Regions from separate parts of the Homo sapiens genome. Here region 2 is linked to region 1. The links are contacts of gene promoters, found by promoter capture Hi-C in blood cells and fetal thymus (Javierre and others, 2016). All regions are on one chromosome and are shown on one strand. The core of a region is centred on a gene start or on the middle of the fragment in contact, and the rest is flanking DNA. Distances in the headings are between cores, read along the strand shown.

Evidence for each region. Contacts are between HindIII fragments. The CHiCAGO score rates a contact against its expected background, and 5 or more counts as called.
Region 2: a contact is called between a fragment that was not itself captured here and the fragment with the promoter of BATF in region 1, in 2 of 17 cell types (activated CD4 T cells and M1 macrophages). The highest score is 6.9, in activated CD4 T cells.

The regions. Positions count from the first base shown.
Region 1 is chr14:75,519,995-75,524,149 of GRCh38, reverse strand. BATF (basic leucine zipper ATF-like transcription factor) reads right to left here and starts at 1,681. Exons shown (of 3, transcript NM_006399.5): 1 at 1,405-1,681. The coding sequence starts at 1,467. RefSeq lists an enhancer at 1,384-1,713. The HindIII fragment of the contact is 2,331 bases long and covers 1,134-3,464 here.
Region 2 is chr14:75,310,956-75,315,110 of GRCh38, reverse strand. No RefSeq gene overlaps it. Among named protein-coding and RNA genes, the nearest start is that of LINC01220, 19 kb to the right of the region's middle. The HindIII fragment of the contact is 780 bases long and covers 1,737-2,516 here.

The DNA.
Region 1 (4,155 bases), core at 432-2,931:
GTAGGAGTCCTGGCAACTCATGCCCTGTTCCCTTCCACGTCTCCCACAGGCTAGAGGGGCACAGATCCAAGGGCAAAGCTCTGGGATCACTAAGTACTGGGCTCACCAACATGTCCAATACTTTCAGGCCTTTGTGGTAGGAGGTCATTGGCATAGATAGGAAGGAAGTGCTCTTCCTCTAAGGGGGATGGGGCACCAGGTTACCATGGAAGCCATGAGTAATTTCCTTCCTAAGAAAAGTACAAACTTCCAGGCAGTCAGAGCCACTCTGACACCATCTTGAGCAGCAGACTGGATTCTGTGCCTTCTAGAGGTCTCCACCCAGACTCATCCCAGCCTGCTGCTCCGTTATTAGAGGCTTAGGATATACGCCCTGTTCAATATTTATATACTTTTATTTTGGCTGCAGCATTTTGAAAACCCTTGTGGATATCTGTGCTAAGGAAAGAATGAAGTTTTTAAACTATGAAGGTTGAGAAAATTTTAACCCACGGATACATGTCGGATGAGAAAGAGGAGGGCTTCCTACAGCAAGGGATGTCAAGAGTGTGGTGCAGAACAAAACCCTAGAAGCTGTGAGATGGGCAGGGCACTCCTTTTTTGGTAATCCTCAAGCTAAAACCTTTGGACTTGGAAGTCACAATCTAGACTCCAAATGCTCCCACAATCCCTATCTCAGTCTCTCTGGTTTCCCCAGAGCTAAGATGAACTACCAGCAAATGTCTTCCAACAAATTTCCAGAGCCACCTCCTCATTCATTTCCTTGCTCCTATCCAGAAGCCACAAGCAAAGAGATATTGGCTGGACCTCTAGCATCTCCCCTTGCTGGCTGTGCTAGCAACAGAGGCAGTGCCCCAGTAGAGAGATCCTTCTATGCTAGCCTGGGTTTCTCCTCCTCCTCCTCCTTCTTCCTCTTCTTCTTCTTCTTTTTTTTTTTTTTTAACTTTTCCCTAACCCCTTTTCTCCCCTTCCCTATTGGCTGTCTCCTGGGAAACTGCATATCTAGGATTTGAGCTGTGCATGCCAGCGGCCCACTTGAAAACTCCTCTCACTTTTCTACAGCCTTGGAGAACAGTAGACTCTTTTCTCTGCATTCTTTGATGTTCATCCTCCTCTTTGCTTCCTAGAAAGCTTTTTAGGGTGGCAACCCCAGTGAGGCAGAGGTGATAGGCAGCCTTGGAAAATGGAGAGAAAAAGGGGCTTTGGCAGAATGGGTGGAAGGATGAGGATCTCTGCCAATATGCACAGCTTAGTAGCAAATTCCATGTCCTAAGTCTAACAGAGTGCCCGTGCAACGAGCCACTTCCTCCATCCTCAGCTCCCTGGGCAGGACAAGGAAGCCTGGCTCTCTTTCCATCCCCCAGGAGAATCAGAAGGTAGGAGAGAGAAAAAGGAGGACTCTACCTGTTTGCCAGGGGGAGGAGAGCGGCTGAAGCTGGAGTCACTGCTGTCGGAGCTGTGAGGCATGGCTGAAATCTTCCGGGCTCTCACACTCAGCCCCAGGCACCTCTGGGCTCTCTTGTCACCAGCTGGGCTCCCTTCCTGACTTCTCCTGGGCCACCAGCCCACCACCCCCTACAGGTGCCTCCTCTGCCTGCCCTGTAGCCACCTCTGACCCCTGCGTCCTCCTCACTCTGGGGTGCAGAGGGACTGCTCCCCAAAGGGACATGTCGCTCGCTTTGGGGCTTGCACGCTCTCTCTCTCTCTTGTGGTTTCTGGTAACTCACGCTGGAAGTCACATGGGCGGAAACTTCAGCGAGTTAGAAGTTAGAGAGAAAAATACATATCTGGGAAAAGACCTACAGAATTATGTGAAAGAAAAAAAAATACAGATACCTTCCGACAGTTTGAAAGACACAGCAGCCCTCTTCAATTGATGAAGATAAAAGAGAAAAACAGCCCAGGCAGGGAAAAACCCCAGCCAGAATTAGCAAGTCCGTCTTCTGTCAACATGGGCAGAGAGGAGAGGACAACCAGGAAAATGTTTCCATTGTCATACGACTTGATTTTTAAACCAAAATAAAGCAAAAACACTGGGATTTCTTTCTGGTTTTCAGCCGAAAGCAGCTGCTCACCCATCTTGTCTTTCCTCACCCCTTAAGTCCAGCCAGCCTCGGGGTGGTCTGGAGATAAGACGATCCAAGGGTATTCTCCTTTCCTGACCATCAAACACAAGGGCTGTGGGAGATCAGAAAGCCACAAGGGAGGTTCTAGAATTGCTGCTCTGAAAGCCTATTAAGCGCCTGTGCTGCTTGGCAGGGAGCTCACACTCTTTAGAGAAAAGATGCCTTCCATATTGAGCAGCTCAAGACAGGCCCTGAATCTTTATGATTCAAGGTCACCTGGTCAGAACCCAGAATGCAGAAACAGTTAAAAAAAAAAAAGAAAGAAAGAAAGAAAGAAAAAGTGAAACAAATACTACACTTGGAGTCAGACCAACCAAGATTTAAATTCTGGTTCTACCACTTTGTATGTCTGTGGCCCTGGGTAGCTCACTTGAGCTATGTGACCTTCATTATCTTCATCTGTAAACAGAGGATGATAAAACCTGCCCTGCCTACCTCTTAGGAATGTGGCACAAAGCAAATGACAACGCGGATTAGAATGCCCCGCAGACTCTGAAGTAAATGACCGAGAGGGTAAGTGTAGGGTATTCCCAGCCTTGCCATGAGCGCATTTGTAGGGTTCTCAGTGATCAATTCAACCCTCACCTGGGCATCGTGGCTTTTTCAAAAGGCCTTACCTTATTCCCAGTATGGCTCGAAGCCAAACATTTGCCTTATTAAATTTTAGGATTGACAGGAAGTTACGGCTCCTAGAGGATTTTTGTATCCATGAGCTGAATTTCTAGACTAAGACAATATTGCCCTAAGGTTAAATTAAGTAAGACAAAATTCCTTTCCTATGGAGGAAAATAAAGCAGGGTTGGAGGTTAGGGAATTCTGGGTGGTCAGAAGGGCCTTGCCCAAAGAGGGGATACCTGAGCAGAGATTCGAAGAAAGAGAGGGAGTGAATGGTGAGTGTCTCAGGGAAGGACATTCCAGGACCTGAGGTGGAAGTGTGCTTGAGTATTGGAAAAAGAGCAGGGGGGCCAGGTAGTTGGATATCAGAGGCAGCAAAAGTGGCAGGCGATGAGGTCAGTGAGGTAATGGCCCGGTCAGGGAGGGCCTTAGAGGCCAACATCAGGATTTTAGCTTTCATTCTGAAAGACACAGTGAGCCCATGGAGGGTTTCCCCTTCCACCTTCATTCTTATCCTCTACCTCAGCTACTATTCATTTCTCCCATAGCAGTTACCCAATTTTATACTTATTTTATTCGTTTACTGATTTATCTTTTTCCTGTTTCCCTCAATAGAATGTTAAAACCATTTACACCTTTATTAATATATTCAACAAACGTTCATGGTGCATCTACCATGTGCCAGGCACTAAGTACTGAGGATACAGTTAGTAAAAAGAAGCTTGACTTTTTGTCTAAATGAGATAGTCTATCAGTGTTCGCTGCCCAAAAAACTACCAGAAACTTCGATGACTCAAGCCATTTATTTGGCTCATGAGTCTGTGGGTCATCTGAAAGGTTCTTTGGGGATAGGCTGGGCTAGGCTGATCTCGGCTAGGCTCGGTCATGTGTCCTCAGACAGCTGGTAGGTTGGCTGATAATTGACTGGTCTGGCCTGGCTTTGCCTTGGGCATTTCTCCTCCACATGGTCTCTCATCCACCAACAGGCTGGTCGGAGCATGTTTATTTGATAGTGGCAGGATTCCAAGAGTAGGAGCAGAAGCATTCGAAGCCCCATGGAACCCAGGCTCAGAGCTAGCACAGAACTCAGAACCTGCCACATTCTATTGGCCGAGGAGAGTCACAAGGCCAGTTCAGACTCAATGAGTTGAGAAACAGACTTCACTTCTCGATAGGAAAAATTTAACTAATTGTGGCAATTTCTACAATCTCCTACAGATGAGAAGCCATTGGAGGTGTCAGAGCAGAGGAGTGACATGATCTGACTTAGGTTTTTAGAGGATCTCTCTGGACACAGTTGAGATTTTACGATAGGGGAGCAAAGTGGAAGCAGGGAGATGAGTCAGGATTTCAGTATTGGATTACTGCAACCATCCAAACAAAAGATGCTGGCAGCATAGGCCAGTTAGACAGT
Region 2 (4,155 bases), core at 877-3,376, 210 kb after region 1:
CTATTTAATAACTCTTCCCACTCCTCAAAAGGCACAGGGGGCTGGGTGCAGTGGCTCATGCCTGTAATCCCAGTACTTTGGGAGGCCAAGGCGGGAGGATTCCTTGAACTCAGGAGTTAGAGACCAGACTGTGCAACATAAGGAGACCTCGTCTCTACTAAAAATTTTTTTAAAAAAATTATTCAGGTGTGGTGGTGCATGCCTGTAGTCCTAGCTACTCAGGAGGCTGAAGCAGGAGGATCACTTAAGCCCAGGTGGTCGAGGCTGCAGTGAGCCATGACTGTGCCACTGCATTCCAGCCTGGGAGACAAAGCGAGATCCTGTCTCAAAAAAAAACAGAGACATGTTCTTGTTCTAGACTTTCTGTATTGCCCTACATCATCACCCCTCCTGGTTAGTAGGGAAACCTCTCCCCTTTGCCCCCTTTCTCTTATTTTCTCTATTATTTAGAATGCTTTTGGATGATGATAATTATTATTATTGATGATGATGATAGTAGCTAATATTTATTGGGTCATAGTTTGGGTTACCAGGAAGTGACTCTGAGAACAGCATTCAGGTTGTACAGTTGGGATCAACACCTGTAGAAAGAGAGGGGAAAAAAAGTGGGATTCAGCAAAGGGAGAAGTTTTAGAGGAGACAAATCAGTGAAACGAGTTTGCCTCCCCACGTTTCCCCAGTGTGTAGTTGAGACTGTTGTCTGAGCCAACACATGTTCACATTGTTCCCAGGTTCTCCCATCATGTAATGAGAATAATTCTATCATTTCTCACAAGGCGAGAGGGACACAAATGAAGAAAAGACCAAAACACAGAATTTGAAGCCAGTCTGCCTGGGTTCAAATCCCAGCTCTCCCTTGTACCATCTAGGTGATCTAGGGCAAGATGCTTGATCCTTCTGAGCCTCCATTTCCTCGTCCACTAAATGAGAATACTGTTACTAGCTACCGCACAAAGTTGTTGTGAAGATGAGTGAGGGATTATATGTAAAACACTGGGTGGAATGCCTGGCTCACAGGAAGCACTATGTGTTGGCTGTGGGACTGTACGGCCTTCAGTATTGAAGAAATCACTCATCATGCAACTCTCCTTCACTTATGCAACCACACACACACAACACCCACGTTACACACATACACATGCAACACGTGCAGCATACAGCACGTACTCAACAAAACATACACAGTACACATACATAAAGCAGCAAAGCCTTGTTTCATAAGTTGTCCTTTTTTTCTTTTTTTTTGAGAAGGAGTCTCGTGCTGTCGCTCAGGCTAGAGTGCAGTGGCGTGATCTCGGCTCACTGCAACCTCTACCTCCACCTCCTGAGTTCAAGCGATTCTCCTGCCTCAGCCTCCTGAAGAGCTGGGACTACAGGTGTGCACCACCATGCCCGGCTAATTTTTGTATATTAAGTAGAAACGGGGTTTCACCATGTTGGCCAGGCTGGTCTTGAACTCCCGACCTCAAGTGATCCACCTGCCTCCGCCTCCCAAAATGCTGGGATTACAGGCATGAGCCACTGCGCCCAGCCTCATACTCTGTTCTTTGTGTACTTTGTGGTTTCATTCCATTTTAAAGCCAAATCTCTGCTAATACACACCCATGATGCTCATTGTTCTTCCCCATTGCATGTCATTGTGACATCATGCAATGCCATGATAAGGCGATTTACCAATTGCACATTCTAATTGCTCTCAGAGCATAATATTCATTAGCAATTTTCTTTCATAAGCTTCTTAGCAATAATGTTTCCTCCAATGCAGTATAGCATTCAAAGGTGGAACTTTGGAGTCAGATGAACTTGGGTTGAAATCCTGACATTACTACTTACCAGCTTTGTGACTTGAGGCAAGCTGCTAAACTTCTCTAGCTATAACATTATTCTCATTTTATCAATCAGGAAACAAAGAACCAGAAAGACCAAATCAGTAATCGTGAGTCTCATATTGTTATCTATAAAAAAGCTGCACCTTGCAAGGAATGAAAAGATAAGGTGTGTACCACATTTAAATTGGTGCTTGCCACATGCTAATATATGCTAATAAAACATTTTGTAATGATAAAAGTGATGGTAGTGATGAATGGCTTATTTCTTTATTTTATTTTATTTGAGTCGGAGTCTCACTCTGTTGCCCAGGCTGGAGTGCAGTGGTGTGATCTCAGCTCACTGCAACCTCCGCCTCCCAGGTTCAAGTGATTCTCCTGCCTCAGCCACCCGAGTAGCTGGGATTACAGGCATCCACCACCACACCCAGCTAATTTTTGTATTTTCAGTAGAGACAGGGTTTCACCGTGTTGGCCAGGCTGGTCTCGAACTCCTGGCCTCAAGTGACCTGCTTGCCTCAGCCTCCCAAGGTGCTGGGATTACAGGCGTGAGCCACTGCACCCGGCCAATGGCTTATTTCTTTAAATAGAAAAAAGAAATGCATTGAATAAATCATTGACAGTTAATGGGACTCTCTGGTGATGAACCTGGGTTCTACCCATGCCTGGAGGCTCCAGGTCCCATAAGCTTCCACCCAGCATTGTGTTGTAACTGTACCATTTCCCTTCATGAAATTTGAGAGGTGATGTTTTGACATTATTTCATTTTGTTTCATTTCCTCTTGATGGGTGGGCTTAACCTGTTTCTCAATTTAGGCAGAGCAAAAGGGAGAAGTATTTTAAATTGCCATGATAGTCCAAGTTGGTCTTACCTTCAGGCCCCTGAGCACGAGCCCAAAATTCTCTCCAACTCTCCTACGGTATTTGGGTATTTTCCAATTCCTAGAAATGCCAGATATAAATAACCCTTTCCTTAGTTTCCTCCAAAACTCTCCCTTTCTCCTTTCCTTTTGCCTCTTGGCATTTGGGTACCATAACAATGAATTTTGAAATAATACTTTAATCACATTTTATATTCTTGGCCAGGCTCAGTGGCTCATGCCTATAATCCCAACATTTTGGGAGGCCCCATCTCAAATTAAAAAAAAAAAATTACATTCTTATGGTGCATTTCTGTTCACTAAATGCATTCATATCCACTCTTCACAGTTGGCAGTAAGGAAGATAGTGTAAGTTCCATTTGATGGATGATACAGCTGAGGTTCAAAGAGGTGAACCCACGTGCCCTCGATGCTGGCCTTCAAGCCAACACCATTTCCTGCTGCAGCAAGAAGACAGTCTTTACTGACAGACACATTTATTTTTATTATGGTAAAATATACATAACAAAGTTTACTGTTTGAAACTTTTAAAGTCTACAGTTGAGTGGCATTAAGTACATTCGCATTGTTGTGCAACTCTCATCACCATCATCTCCAGAATGTTTCATCTTCCCAAATTGAAACTTCATACTCATTAAATACTCACTCCCCATTTTCCCCTCCCCTCGGCCTCTGGCAATCACCCCTCTACTTTCTGTCTGTTTGAATTTGACTACTCTAGGAAGCTCACATGAGTAGAATCATAAGCTATTTTTCCTTCTGTGTGATAGACACTTTTGCAGCAAGATTTCTGGAGGAAGATGCCAAGATTCTTTCTTCCACTGCATTTGTTTTGGCTCATATTGCCCGTTGGCCAGAAAGAGTGTCTATATCCTAAAGCGGCCCACCTTCAGGGACCTGAACACCATTCAGGCACAGAGTCGGGCTTTGATAGACAAGCCCTGCAAAGCAGATGTTTTCTAACATTTTGCATTGACTGTTGTTCATTCTTCTTGTCTTGCAGGTAATTACTTGAGTTGTCATTATCAGAGTAGAAAAAAAAATGCTCCTGGAGAAGAATATAAGGTATTTCCGTGTTCCACCGCTGAGGTTCCCAAAGCCCTCTCTCTCCTCCATTGGCGTGTGTGTGTGTGTGTGTGTGTGTGTGTGTGTGTGTGTGTGGTTTGGGGGAGTTTTTTATTTTAAAACACTCTGTGATTTACTTCAATTCATCTTTTGCCCAGAAAGCCAACACAGCTGCAAATCCGTTCTGCCCAGAAAGCCTTCTAGCCTTCCCAGAGGCCTCTTTGCCTGTTCAGTGGACACTTCCGTCCCTCTCAGGCCGGCTTCTCCCAGCCCACTGCCCCCCGGGCTGCCTGCCCAGCTCCTGAGAGAAGGCACTGCTCCCTGGAAGTGGCCGAGCCTTCTCTATGGATTTCTGTAACTTGGAGAAGCGCAGGCTCCCCTGG